3 separate regions of the Homo sapiens genome follow, and all the other regions are linked to region 1. Evidence: promoter capture Hi-C in human tissues and cell types (Jung and others, 2019). All regions are on one chromosome and are shown on one strand. The core of a region is centred on a gene start or on the middle of the fragment in contact, and the rest is flanking DNA. Distances in the headings are between cores, read along the strand shown.

Evidence for each region. Contacts are between HindIII fragments. The study calls those that stand out against the background at their distance.
Region 2: a fragment that was not itself captured here is called in contact with the fragment with the promoter of CKAP5 in region 1 in 1 of the 25 tissues and cell types used here (spleen).
Region 3: a contact is called between a fragment that was not itself captured here and the fragment with the promoter of CKAP5 in region 1, in 2 of the 25 tissues and cell types used here (dorsolateral prefrontal cortex and lymphoblastoid cells).

Annotation. Positions count from the first base shown.
Region 1 is chr11:46,843,786-46,848,676 of GRCh38, forward strand. It overlaps CKAP5 (cytoskeleton associated protein 5), which reads right to left and starts at 2,495. Exons shown (of 44, transcript NM_001008938.4): 1 at 2,435-2,495. LRP4-AS1 (LRP4 antisense RNA 1) reads left to right here and starts at 2,626. Exons shown (of 3, transcript NR_038909.1): 1 at 2,626-2,714; 2 at 2,825-2,932. RefSeq lists enhancers at 1-679, 1,738-2,315, 2,770-2,889 and silencers at 2,150-2,299, 2,480-2,559. The HindIII fragment of the contact is 16,643 bases long and covers 1-4,891 here.
Region 2 is chr11:47,697,372-47,702,262 of GRCh38, forward strand. AGBL2 (AGBL carboxypeptidase 2) reads right to left here. Exons shown (of 19, transcript NM_024783.4): 8 at 2,075-2,182. Among named protein-coding and RNA genes, the nearest start is that of AGBL2, 16 kb to the right of the region's middle. The HindIII fragment of the contact is 3,199 bases long and covers 1,437-4,635 here.
Region 3 is chr11:47,396,976-47,401,866 of GRCh38, forward strand. All of the region lies in intron 2 of SLC39A13-AS1 (SLC39A13 antisense RNA 1), which reads right to left. MIR4487 (microRNA 4487) reads left to right here and starts at 3,995; the gene lies at 3,995-4,067. RefSeq lists a silencer at 3,054-3,413 and an enhancer at 3,463-4,463. The HindIII fragment of the contact is 6,212 bases long and covers 1-4,891 here.

The sequences.
Region 1 (4,891 bases), core at 1,245-3,744:
TGAAAGTTGGAAGCTGTGTCTCCTATATGTAAATGTGTTTTATTAGGAATGGATATTATGTCTGGCTGGGGAACACTTCCCCTACCTAGTATTGCAAAAACAAAACCTGTTGATAAAGTCCTAATAGAAGCTACAGTTAGAAAAGTGAGGGTTAGCCAGGTGTGGTGGCTCACACCTGTAATCCCAACACTTTGGGAAGCTGAGGCGGGTGGATCATTTGAGGTCAGGAGTTCGAGACCAGCCTGGCCAACATAGTGAAACCCTGTCTCTACTAAAAATACAAAAAATTAGCTGGGCATTGTGGTGCACACAAGAAGTCCCAGCTACTTGGGAGGCTGAGGTGGCAGAATCGCTTGAACCCAGGAGGCAGAGGTTGCAGTCAGCTGAGATCGCACCACTGCACTCTAGCCTGGGCGAAAGAGCAAGACTCTGTCTTAAAAAAAAAAAAAAAGGAAAAGAAAGTGAGTGTTGATGGAATTAAGATAAAAGTTTACAGGAGAGTTGGTATATTCAAACACACTTCATATGAGAGCATAAGAGCTCCACACCCTTCTCCCATACCTACAAGCCCTACGCCTCTCTTCATCTGTATGCTTTGTAGCATCCTTTACAATAAACCGTGAAGGTAAAAAACAAACAAACAAACAAACAAAAAACACCAAAAAAACAGGTGCTGCTAAAACTGAACTGTCAGTAGTAGAAGACTGCGATGGAATTACCACACCCACTGTTCATAATTCAAACATAATTCAAAACTGATCAAGACTTTAAAGTAATGGAGAATAAAGTAAAAGGCATGTTAATTGTTACGGAATACCTTTGCTTGCCATTGCCTCAGTGAACAGCCTTTTAAAAAATTTTTTTTCTTTTTTTTGAGACAGAGGGTCGCTCTGTCACCCAGGCTAGAGTGCAATGGCGGGATCTTGGCTCACTGCAACCTCTGTCTCCCGGGTTCAAATGATTCTCTTGCCTCGGCCTCCCGAGTAGCTAGGATTACAGGCGCCCGCCATCACGCCCAGCCATTTTTTGTATTTTTAGTAGAGAGAGAGAGAGAGAGACGGGGTTTCACCATGTTGGCCCGACTGGTCTCAAACTCCTGACCTCGTGATCCGCCCGCCTCGGCCTCCCAAAGTGTTGGGATTACAGGCGTCAGCCACCGCGCCCAGCCTAAAATCTTATTTAAAAATTTTTTTACATGAGTTTACCAACTAGATTTAACTTATGGTTGCAAAATAAATTGATTTCACCTTTATCTATATCATTAAATTTGGTAAAAGCATTACAGTTTGTCCAGTCACTTCAGAGAAGTCAAAGTCTTCTACAATTTCTTAAAGTTTCAAAAGATTCTTAGCTTAATTTATTGGCTCTTTAGGTCAAAAGAAGGACTTTTCAGGGTGATGAAAATGGAGGAAGGAGGAGCTCACCTTTCTAAAAATGAGTTTTCAATTACTATAATTATGCATAAGACAGGCAGCATTTCTGGGCCAAGATTTGATGCCTTGGTCCCATGAGAATTAAATTAGAGCCACGCATAAATTTGGGGCAAGTTCTGCAAAAACCACTTCAACCTCTATTGATGCTGAATAAAAAACTCATTGTTAAGATTCATCAACACGAATATATTTTCTAACACACACTAGCCACTCTGGCAACAACCCTTTCATCATTTTCTATCCAAGAAACACAACGGAATGCATTTCAATCCTGCTCAACAATTACCACGATTACAAGTAGAGGGGAGAGCTCAAAAGTAAGAATCTAGTTCACCGAGCCCGACCTTAAAGTAGCAAGGCCCAACCCACACTGCTGGCTATTGTATTGGTTCCCCAACACCTCCAGGGCTGGAAGGACACCAGAACGCTCCCGACACGTTGAGAGAGAGAAAGCCAGTCGTTAAGGGCGGGGTGGTGGATGATCGGAATCGTTCACATCGCAGCAAGCCAGCAGGGACACAGGTGTGCGGCCAGGCCCCGGTGCCGCTGTCCTTGCTCCAGGGCGACAAGGCCCTTCGCAACCACCACAGCCCTCGTAGGCGCTTACTTATTCATTCACTTGACAATTACGCGAGAGGCACTCTAGCAGGGCCGGCTCTCGGGGCCCCCGCCCTAGTCTTGGTAAATCGCTGCCGCCAGGCGCGGCCCTGCACCGCCCGCGCCCCGCGGACGCTGCCACCCGCGCCACGCTGCGGCGCGCTCTGGCCACCTGGAGCCCAACCCCGGCCTCCGCCGCACACGAGCGCCCACGCCCCCGGCCCTGCCCGCCGCAGGTCCCCCGGCCTCCGGCTCGCTTCGCCGCCTCAGACCTGCCGGGTTCGTGGGGCAAGTGGGGCGCGCGTCTGGAGACCTCCAGCCGCCCAGGATTCAGGGGCTCCTCTGCGCGCGCGATGCCTGCACTCGAGGGCCTCGCGGGTGGGGCAGGCCCACCGACCACTCACCTCAGCTGGGTCAGAACCAAGCGGCCTGCTCTAAGCCGTTTGAAACCGCTTGGGCCGCCGCACACCCCGCAGTGTCCTCGTTCTTTATTGGTCCTCGACGGACCGCCCATCGGACTTTTATTGGTCCATTTGAAAGGCCTGTGGGCACGCGCCGCCCGCAGCCTTAAAGGGGCCGCGCGCAGCCGTGTTTCCCTCTGGACCAGACGCCGCCTGCACGGGTGGGGACGCTGGTCGCTGCCGGGGGCAAGTCTGCCGACTCCAGAAAGAAAGGCGAAAGAATGTGTGTAGACCCGGGCATCCTTGGTCGTCAGCATGTTTGCTTTATTTAATTACAGATGTTCAGGCTGCTGTCAACACCCGACAATTTTTTTTGGTCATTTCATTCCCTAGAGATTGTGAAGCTAAGTGCTGTGAGGGAAACCAGAGGCAGCTGAGATGTCGTGGAAGTAACAGCGAATGAAGCCAGGATGCTGGATTCTGACCTTGGAACTGTTCTGAGTAAATCACTTTTCTCAGTAAATCTTCTGGAGTTGTTTCCTTATCTGTAAAATGGGATAACGATGTTTCCCTTACAATTTAATGGAGGAGTTAATATAACTAATAGAATGTCTGAGAAAAGCCTTTGTGAACTGTAACGCATCCTGCAAATGCTTAATATTCCCTTATAAAAACGAGAGGCTTGGTTAACATGATCTCCAGAATTTTAGCTTAGCTCTACATTCAGTGTTTCTGTGAATGAGTTCAGGTCCTTACTTCCAAGGAATTTGTAATCTACAGTGGTTGGAGGAATATAACATACAGACTAGTCACTAAAATTCAAAGCAGTGTAATAACTGTATAAATGAAAAGCTATAAATGCTTAGAGACAGGAGAAATTTGATGGGGGAGGATCTGTGAGGAAGATGAATTTTTAACCTAGGATTTAAAGAATGTGTAGATTCCCAACAGGCTAAAAGATGGAGAGAGGATGGATAAAAGTAAATGAAACAATTACATGTTTTTTCATTGTCAAGTTGGCAGAGATGAAAAAGTTCAACAGCCTTTGGTTGGTCAAGATTTGGAAAAACAGGCTGGGTGCAATGGCTTATGCCTGTAATCCTAGCGCTTTGGGAGGCCGAGGCAGGAGGATTGCTTGAGGCCAGGAGTTCAAGACCAACCTGGGTCTTGCTATCAAGACCCCATCTCTGTTTTTAAAAATATAAAGAGATTTGGAAAAATGGACACTCAAAGTCAATATTGGTAAGAGTATAATTGGTACAAACCTTTAGGAGGACAATTTGACAGTTACTAAAATGTACATAATCTAGTTCTGGCCCAGTAATCCACTATGAGGAATTTATCGTACAGATCTGTGCAAGTATGCAAAGAAAAATGTACAAGGATGTTTACTGCAATACTGCTTTTTTTTTTTTTTTTTTTGAGACAGTCTCGCTCTGTCGCCCAGGCTGGAGTGCAGTGGCGCAATCTCAGCTCACTGCAACCTCCGCCTCCCGTGTTCAAGCGATTCTCCTGCCTCAGCCTCCTGAGTAGCTGGGACTACAGGCACGTGCCATCACACCTGGCTAATTTTTTGTAGTTTTAGTAGAGACGGAGTTGCACTGTGTTAGCCAGGCTGGTCTTGATCTGCTGACCTCGTGATCCTCCCGCCTGGGCCTCCCAAAGTGCTGGGATTACAGGCGTGAGCCACTGCACCCGGCTTTTTTTTTTTTTTTTTCTGACAGAGTCTCTCTCATGTCACCCGGGCTGTAGTGCAATGGCGTGATCTTGGCTCACTGCAACCTCCATCTCCCGGGTTCAAGCAATTCTCCTGCCTCAGGCTCCCAAGTAGCTGGGATTACAGGCACCTGCCACCACGCCCGGCTAATTATTTTTTATTGTATTTTTAACAGAGATGGGGTTTCACCATGTTGGTCAAGCTGGTTTCAAACTCCTGACTTCAGGTCATCCACCTGCCTCAGCCTCCCAAAGTGCCGAGATTACAGGCGTGAGCCACTGTGCCCGGCCCTTTTTTTTTTTTCTTTTTTTTTCTTTTGAGATGAAGTCTCGCTCTCTCGCCCAGGCTGGAGTGCGATGGCACCATCTCAGCTCACTGCAACCTCCACCTCCCAGGATCAAGCGATTCTCCTATCTCAGCCTCCCAAGTGGCTGGGATTACAGGCATGTGCCACCAAGCCCAGCTAATTTTTTGTATTTTTGGTAGAGACGGGGTTTCACCTGTTGGCCAGGCTGGTCTTGAACTCCTGACCTCAAGTGATCCACCCGCCTCGGCCTCCCAAACTGTTGGGATTATAGCTGTGAGCCACTGTGCCCAGCCAGCACTGCTTAAGATAAAAATAAAATAAAATAAAAAAATAAATCTGGAGGCCAGGCATGGTGGCTCATGCCTGTAATCCCAGTGCTTTGGGAGGCTGAGGTGGAGGATTGCTGGAGTGTGGGAGGTCAAGGCTGCAGTGAGCT
Region 2 (4,891 bases), core at 1,786-4,285, 850 kb after region 1:
GTAACTACAGGCGCATGCCATCATGCCCGGCTAATTTTTTGTATTTTTAGTAGAGATGGGGTTTCACCATGTTAGCCACGATGGTCTCGATCTCCTGACCTTATGATCCGCCCACCTTGGCCTTCCAAAGTGCTGGGATTACAGGCGTGAGCCACCTCGCCAAGCCTACTTTTTTTTTTTTTTTTTTTTTTTGAGACGGAGTCTTGCTCTGTCGCCCAGGCTAGAGTGCAGTGGCGCAATCTTGGCTCACTGCAAGCTGTGCCTCCCGGGTTCACGCCATTCTCCTGCCTCAGCCTCCCGAGTAGCTGGGACTACAGGCGTGTGCCACCACGCCCGGCTATTTTTTTTGTATTTTTAGTAGACACGGAGTTTTTCCGTGTTAGCCAGGATGGTCTCAATTTCCTGACCTCGTCGTCCGCCCGCCTCAGACTCCCAAAGTGCTGGGATTACAGGCGTGAGTCATCGCGCCCGGCCTTTTTTTATTTTATTTTTTATTTTTTTTTAATGAGACGGAGTTTCACCCTTGTTGCCGAGGCTGGAGTGCAGTGGCGCCATCTTGGCTCACAGCAACCTCCAACTCCCAAGGTTTAAACGATTCTCCTGCCTCAGCCTCCTGAGTAGCTGGGTTTACAGGCGCCTGCCACCATGACTGGCTAATTTACTGTGTTTTAGTAGAGACAGAGTTTCACCATGTTGGGCAGGCTGGTCTCGAACTGCCGACCTCAGGTGATCTGCCCATCTTGGCCTCCCAAAGTGCTGGCATTACAGGTATGAGCCACCAAGCCCAGTCTACATAATTTTTTTTTTTTTTTTTTTTTTGAGACGGAGTTTCACTCTTGTTGCCCAGGCTGGAGTGCATGGCACGATCTTGGCTCACCACAACCTCTGCTTCCCAGGTTCAAGAGACTCTCCTGCCTTAGCCTCCCAAGTAGCTGGGATTGCAGGCATGCACTACCACACCTGGCTAATTTTGTATTTTCAGTAGAGATAGGGTTTCTCCATGTTGGTCAGGCTGGTCTGGAACTCCCAACCTCAGGTGGTCTGCCTGCCTCGGCCTCCCAAAGTGCTGGGATTATAGGCGTGAGCCACAGCGCCCAGCCACATTCTTATTTTTATTACTACTTTCCTGCTGCTTGCTTTGGGTTTAGTTGGCTCTTATTTTTCCAGTTTACTAAGGTAGAAGCTTAGGTAATTGATAAGAAGCCTTTTTCGTTTTGAAATTCAGGCACTTAAAGCCATAAATACCCATAAATATCCCTGGCACTGGTTCATTTTGTTTTGCATCCTATAACTTTTGATATGTTATGGTTTTATTTTCACTACATTCAAAATATTTTTGAAGTCTACTTGTGATTTCTTTAACCCACAGTTTATTTAGAAAGATGTTATTCAATTTCCACATATTTATGGATATCTCATATTTCATTCTGTTGTTGATTTCTAACTTAATTTTATTATGGTCAGAGAATGTACTTTGTATTATTTTAATCCTTTTACATGTATAAAAACTTCCATTACGGCCTAACATATGGTTTATCCTGGGGAATCTAACAGGTACCCTTAAAAAGAATGTGTATGACTTCAGTAGGAATGGCAAAAAAAAAAAAAAAAAAAGAATGAGTATTTTGTTGTTGTTAGGTATGGTGTTCTGCATATTTCTATAAAAGATATATATTCAATCCTTAGAAGCTTAAAACTCAACACAGGAAACTGCATTACTAAATGACAGTCATATGCACATAGAACAAAGTACTCACTAAAGTACGTATAACAGGTGGAGAAAAGAAATCTCCCCAAAGATGATCCAACATCTGATTTTCAGGAAGGAGAATAACAAGAGAGAAGCTGTAAAATGGACTTAGAACTATTAAAAATAATGTACTTTGATTTTAGAAAATTATCGAAATTTTGCAGCAGACTGGTTATGACTCCTCCTCCAGGCTCCCACTCATGTTGGCCTGGAAAAGAGTTTACCACTAAACTATGGATTTTTAAAATCACTTTTATTATGGAACATATGTTTATTATAACTTTGTCATGATTAACCATTCATTGTTCAGTGTAATGACAATACCTGAATCTAATTGATAGACAACTGTTCCTTTTTTCTCTCCTACAATCTCTGGTACCTTTTCATTTCCTTTAGGCTGATAGAAATATTCTGGTTGAGGTGGAGCCCACTCTGAAAGAAGACATTTTAAAAAGTACAAAATAAGAAATAATGTAAACGGCACTATCAGAACTAATATAAAATAATAATAATAATTTTTCAAATGGCTAGTTTGGTTGAATCAAACCAAATTCCCACCCTAAATTTCCTGCTTGTTTATAAAATAATTATGTCTTGTTTCTTTCTATAAAGACTTATGAGGACACTTTTAACAAAGAGCATATAAAATGAAATATAAACTATCCATAGAAGACCTAAGAATAAGTCAGAAAGGTCAATATAGCTGCTGCAACAGCTCTTCAAAATTTGGCCCTGAGTTTCCTTAAAGTGAGCAAAATATGGTCATTAACATAATTTTTTTTATTACCATAGAGGACTAGGTCTATCAATTGTTTCAGAGGAAGCAAGCCTTTTTCTTTTCTTTCTTTTTTTTTGAGATGGAGTCTTGCTCTATTGCTCAGGCTAGAGTGCAATGGTGCAATCTCGGCTCACCGCAACCTCCGCCTCCCGGGTTCAAGCGATTCTCTCGCCTCAGCCTCCTGAGTAGCTGGGATTACAGACATGTGCCACCACTCCCGGCTAATTTTGTATTTTTAGTAGAGACAGGGTTTCTCCATGTTGGTCAGGCTGGTCTCAAACTCTCGACCTCAGGTGATCCGCCCTCCTCTGCCTCCCAAACTGCTGGGATTACAGGTGTGAGCCACTGTGCCTAGCGAAGGCTTTTTCATTAACACTGAATTTAAAAAGATTTCTTTGGCTGGGTGCAGCGGCTTATGCCTGTAATCCCAGCACTTTGGGAGGACAAGGTGGGTAGATTACCTGAGGTCGGGAGTTCGAGACCAGCCTGGCCAACATAGTGAAACTCTGCCTCTACTAAAAATACAAAAATTAGCCGGGTATTGTGGCATGTGCCTGTAGTCCCAGCTACTCGGGAGGCTGAGGTAGGAGAATCGCTCTAACCTGGGAGGCGGAGGTTGCAGTGAACCGAGATCACGCCACTGCGTGCCAGCCTGGGCGAACAGAGCAAGACTCTGTCTCAAAATAAATTTAAAACAAACAAACCAACAAACAAACAAACAAACATTTCCTTTACGGAACTTGAACTTTTCAATATCATTTTTAGAAGAGTAGCCACTGATGAATTCCAAGAGCATATAAAGATACACCTCAGTCAAATATTACATGAATTTATTTTCTCGAAGATTATAGGAAGTGATGAGGCTTTCACAATTTAGTTTAAACAATAAGGTGCTTGCATGCCTGTAATCCCAGCACTTTGGGAGGCCAAGGAGAGTGAATCATGAGGTCAGGAGATCGAGACCAGCCTGGCCAACACGGTGAAACCCCGTCTCTATTAAAAAATACAAAAATTAGCCGAGTTACAGTGGGCACCTGTAATCCCAGCTACTCAGGAGGCTGAGGCAGAATTGCTTGAACCCAGGAGACAGAGGCTGCAGTGAGCTGACGCGGTGCCACCGCACTCCAGCCTGGGCGACAGAGTGAGACTCTGTCTCAAAAAAAAAAACAAACAAACAACCAATAAGGTGCTTATTAATACAATTTAGTTTAAACAATAAGGTGTTTGTTAATAAGTTTCTTTGAAACATTTTTTTAAAAATTGCTTTATAAAAGATCATGTAGTTGGCTGGGCGCAGTGAGTGGCTCACGCCTGTAATCCCAGCACTTTGGGAGGCCGAAGCGGGCGGATCATGAGGTCAGGAGTTCGAGACCAGCCTGACCAACATGGTGAAACCCCGTCTCTACTAAAAAAAGTAAAAAATTAGCCAGGCGTGGTGGTGCACACCTGTAATCCCAGCTACTCAGGAGGCTGAGGAGGGAGATTGCTTGAACCTGGGAGGCGGAGGTTGCAGTGAGCCGAGATTGTGCCATTGCACTCCAGACTGGGCGACAGAGCAAGACTCCGTCTCAAAAAAAAAAAAAAAAAAGATCTTGTAGTTTAGTGAATTACCACAGCATTAACTTGGTTATTAAATTCCAGTGTCCTTGCTGGGGGTGGTGGCTCACACCTGTAATCTCAGCACTTTAGGAGGCCAGGAGGATCATTTGAGGCCAGGAGTTTGGGAGTAGCCTGGGCAACATAGTGAGACCATGTGTCTCTACAAAAAAACTATTTAAAAATGAGCCAGGTGGCCGGGCACAGTGGCTTACACCTGTAATCCCAGCACTTTGGGAGGCTGAGGCAGGCAGATCACTTGAGGTCATGAGTTCGAGACCAGCCTGGCCTACATGGTGAAACCCCGTCTCTACCAAAAATATAAAAAATGAGCAGAGTGTGGTGGCACGTGCCTGTAATCCCAGCTACTTGGGAGGCTGTGGCAGAGAAGCACTTGAACCTGGGAGGCGGAGGTTGCAGTGAGCCAAGATCATGCCACTGCACTCCAGCCTGGGCGACAGAGCGAGACTCTGTTCTCAAAAAAAAAAAAAAAAAAAGAAAAAAAATTAGCCAGGCATGGTGGTGCACGCCTATAGTCCTAGCTACTCAGGAGGCTGAGAGGGGAGGATGGCTTGTGCCCAGGAGTTCAAGGCTGCAGTGAGCTATGATTGCACCACTGCACTCCAGCCTGAGTGACAGAACAAGACCCTGTCTCAAAAATAAAATATAAAGTCAAATAAACTCTACTTTTATTTTTTCCCTATATTTTCAGACTCTTCTCTTGTTTTTAATGCTCAATGTTCTATGGTTGCCCAAGCATGCCATGC
Region 3 (4,891 bases), core at 1,526-4,025, 550 kb after region 1:
TGACAGAGTGAGACTGTCTCAAAATAAATAAATAAATAAAATAAAATAAGTAAATAAACAAATGGAGAAATGCCTAGCTCAGAAGTTTGCAATGAGGGACAAATGAGGCTGTGGAGTGGGGCCTTGGGGTAATCGTTTGGCCGGCAACACACTGCGGCCACCCACCTGTCGCCCCCCTCTCACCTGCCTGAGTTGGGGTGAACACTCCAGCTCGCCACTCTTCTCTGAGAACCCCCAGGGCCCCTCCCTGGCCTCCCTCTGGCCCTTCCTGACCTGGAGGAGTCCTGAAGCTGAGGTTCCCAGCCCCACCCTCAAGGTGCTCCCTCTCTGGGACAGAAACCTTAGAGGCCCCAACTCCCACCTTGGCAGGACTCCCCAGTTCTGCTCACACTCTGTGCCCCTCACATGACATCCCCACTGCTGCCCCGAGACTGTCTTAATAACTAGAGGTATTCACCAGGCACTCTACATACACAGCATCTTGTAATCCTTGACGATGCAGGTATTCTCATCCCCATTTCACAGATAAGGAAACTGAGGCTCGGGGAGGACTGACAGGTGCAAGCTCAGCTGGCTAGAAAGGGGCAGCACTGGCCGGGCGCAATGGCTCACACCTGTAATCTCAGCACATTGGGAAGCCAAGGCAAGTGGATCACCTGAGGTCAGGAATTCGAGACCAGTCTGGCCAACATGGTGAAACCCCATCTCTACTAAAAATACAAAAATTAGCTGGGCATGGTGGCGGGCAGCTGTAATCCCAGCTACTCAGGAGGCTGAGGCACAAGAATAGCTTGAACCCAGGAGGCGGAGGTTGCAGTGAGCCGATATCATGCCATTGCACTCCAGCCTAGGTAACAGGGTGACAAAGCAAGACTCCGTCTCAAAAAAAAAAAAAAAAAAAAAGTAAAAGAAAGGGGCAATGCTGAGATGAGAACTCAGTTTTCCTGTGTGCCCATCCAGTGGAAGTCCCATGCAAACCCTGAGGCAAAGCAGCATCTCTTTGGAAAAAGACTTCAAGCCTTTTAGAGTCTCACTGCTGCCTCCAGGCCCACGGCCACCACCTCTTCCCAGCTCCCCTACCCTGTCCCTATTCTCAGTTGTCCTGCTTCTCCTGGTCCAGGCTGGAGGATATCAGAGTTGAAAAAATTCCAGCCTCAGGTGCCCATGGGACCAGAGAGATGATAAAATCCAGAAAGGGGATGAGCCAGGCTCCCCTTGGCTCTCAGCCCTGGGCATGAACACGTAACAGTGGGACTTAACTCCCTGGGAGACAGGCCCAAAGAGGCAGCATTCCTGGTGGTGAGACCTGAGTGCATCTGCACCAGACATTTCCGCATTTAAATCTCAGCTCTGCAATGGAGAGACCACCCCCTGGGTAAGTGACAACATGAAAATGGGAGAAAATGCCTCTCCTGGCCTGGAGATCTCACAGGAGGGAAATGTGTTTCTAACAGCCATGGGCCCAGCCCTCCTTCAGGCACCGGCTCTGTCCAGTAGGTACGATTATTACTCCCATTTTACATACGAGGAAACCCAGGGAAAAGAGATGTCCCAAGGTCACACAGCCTTGCAGGGGCTTGAACCCCAATCCTGTCTAACTCCAAGTCCCATGCACTTACATATACCTGAGAGCCCCTCCTTCCTTTTCTCCTAGGAGTTCTTCTGTACCTTCCTAGCTTGCAGGGTTGGGGCCCTGGGTGGCAAGTTGAACCATGACTGGATGGGACTGGAGGGCTTGGCCCTGCCTGGCTGAGGCTGCAGTCTGCAAATACCTGACTGCCCTTGCTCTTGGTTGGGCTGAGGGACTGCTGCCTGGGCATGCAAGGGGTTGGGGACCAGCTGCAGCGGCACCTCCCTGACATATTGCCTTGGGCCACCCTGCCCTCTAAGCTTGTTGGTGTCTGACTTTCTTGGGAGAGGGGTATAACCCCTTCCAGGGGGCCTGCATGGTGGGGCTGAGACACTAAGAAAGCTGCATTTGAGCTTCCTCACTGGCTCAGCTCCTTCTGAGGCCCTGGAAGGGGTCTCAGCAATTTTGTTTTTGTTTTTTATTTTTTTGGTTTTTTTTTTGATGAAGTCTCACTCTATTGCCCAGGCTGGAATGCAGTGACACAATCTCGGCTCACTGCAACCTCTGCCTCCCGGGTTCAAGTAATTTTGCTGCCTCAGCCTCCCGAGTAGCTGGGACTACAGGAGAGCGCCACCACGCCTGGCTAATTATTTTATTTTATGTTTTGTATTTTTAGTAGAGACAGGATTTCACCACGTTGGCCAGGCTGGTCTCGAACTCCTGACCTCAGGTGATCCACCCACCTTGGCCTCCCAAAGTGTTGAGATTACAGGTGTGAGCCACCGCGAACGGCTGTTTTGTTTTGTTTTGTTTTGTTTTTGTTTTTTGTTTTGAGACAGAGTTTAGCTCTGTCACCCAGACTGGAGTGCAGTGGTGCGATCATCTCAGCTCACTGCAACCTCTGCCTCCCGGGTTCAACGATTCTCCTGCCTCAGTCTCCCGAGTAGCTGGGATTACAGGCGCCCACCATCACGTCCAGCTAATTTGTGTATTTTAGTAGAGACAGGGTTTCACCATGTTGGCCAGGCTGGTCTGGAACTCCTGACGTCAAGTGATCCGCCCACCTTGGCTTCCCAAGGTGCTGGGATTACAGGTGTGAGCCACTGCGCCCAGCCTCTCAGCAATTTTGTATTTGTGACTTTGTAATCTTTTCCTTAAAGAGTGCCCCCCCAAATGGTTTTAAGCTTCAGGCTCCTGGGAACCTAGATCTGTCCCCAGGGTGGGGCGGTGGAAAGCGTTCCAACCCCCTCCCACTTGCTTTTTGCATGCTGGCTCTGGGGCTTTGGGTGAAACTCCCCACTTTGCCATCTATACAATGGGGATGAATGAGGCGATGCGATGCTTAGAGGACCCTCTGTTCAAAACTCGCCCAACCCACAGAGACCTTCACAAGCCTGCACTTGGTCCATCACCAACAGCCCTGTGGGGAAAACCGAGCTCCTACCCCCATTTTCCAGCTGAGATAACTGAGGCGTGAAGCCCCGCTGCCGCTCGTCGCTGAGGCTGTGAGCAGGCTGGAGCCTCATCCCCCACTGCTCCCTGGGGTCTCCTCCCGGGATGCCAAGCCTGGGTAGCAGGAGGGGGTCTCCAGGGTGCGGGGGCGCTCTGGGGAGGCCGGGGGCGGAGGCGGTGTCCCGCACTGTCCCACCGCAGGGCCGACCTCGGCCCTTATCTGCTCCGGCAGCTTCCGCCCCCCAACTCCAGCCCCCGCCGCAGGCCCGGCCCCCGGCCCCGCCCCCCTAGGGCCCCTCCCCCGCGCCGCCCGCCCCCAGGGGAGCGCCCGAGCTGCCCGGCTGCGGCCCAGTCGAGCGGAGAGGGGGCCCAGCCCCCCCAGGTGGGCAGCCGGAAGTGATAAATAACCGAGACGGGGGGGGGGGGACACCATTGCAGTGAGGCCCGAGTTGTCCCGGGATACTCGCCCACAACCCAATAGGAGCTCCCCAAACTAAGTTGTCTTCGCCAAAAATGGGAGGGGGTCTGAGAAGGAAGAGGAAAGGGGTTCCTTAAGGCCCCAGGGACAAGAGGAACAGTGGAGTCAGTTTAAACAGGGCTCTGAGAGGCACACGACCTCCCCCCACACTAACAATGCCAAGTGGCCTCCCTGGGACAGGTGTGGGGGGGGGAGAGAGAAGCGGAGACACCTCAGAGAAAGTGAAAAGGAAGTCACAACTGGAGATGCCTGCGGAGTGCAGCGGGGCATAGCCTCAAAAATACATAAGGAACTCTTGCAAATCAAGGAAAAGAAAATCAAGCAATCCAATATAAAAAAATAGATAACACACACGCAGCGCAGGCATGTTAGGGCAGAGAAAACGAATTTGCTCAAATACCATCTAAGGGAGGCTCAGCCTCACTGCTGATGAGGGCGATGCAAATTCAGACCACAATGAGATGCTATTTACACCATCTGAAGGGCAGAAGGGAACTGTCCTTCAGCCAGAGCTGGCTGAAGGGCAGAAGGGAACTGTCCTTCAGCCAGAGCTGGCTGAAGGGCAGAAGGGAACTGTCCTTCAGCCAGAGCTGGCAAGGAGGGGAGCAGCAGGCCCTCCTGCATGTGGCTAGTCAGGATGCGGCTCCAAATAGCCCCCTAGGGAGAGCAATCTGGCCTTATCTCACGAAGTGGAGGTACAGAGGCTGTCACCCACACATCCCCCCAGGCAGCAAATCAAGATAAGTTCTCTGACAAGTGCGCCAAGAGACAGGGACAAAAATATTCACGTTGTCCCTAATAGCAAAAAAAATCCTGAAATAACCCCAGGGCCCACTGATAAGAGAATGGATAAATAAATTACAGTAGACACATTCACAGGGTGGAGATCATTCAGCAATGCAAGCAGGTGACCCACAGGTTCACCAATATCATGAAGGAATCTTTGCACCATGGTATTGAGTGGAAAAAGTCAGTCCCAGAAGATGGATACTTGCGGCTCTCTGTATCCCTGGGTTCCACATCCATGGATTCAACCAACCTCGGATGGAAAATATTTGGAGAAAAAAATGGATGGTTGTGTCTGTACTAAACATGTACAGACTTTTTTTCTTGTCATTGTTCCCCAAACAATACCATGTAACAGCGATTAACATAGCATTTACATTGTTTTCGGCAATCTAGAGATGATTTAAAGTATATGGGAGGATGTGGTAGGCTAAATATGCAAATATTTAATACCACACCATTTTATATCAGGGATTGAGCATCTGTGGATTTTGGTATCCTCAGGGGGTCTTGGAACCAACTCCCCCCCATCCCCGCCAGGACGCCAAAGGACAGCTGTCCTTACCCTTCTCATGAAGTTCAAAACCAAGCCAAGCCATATCTTT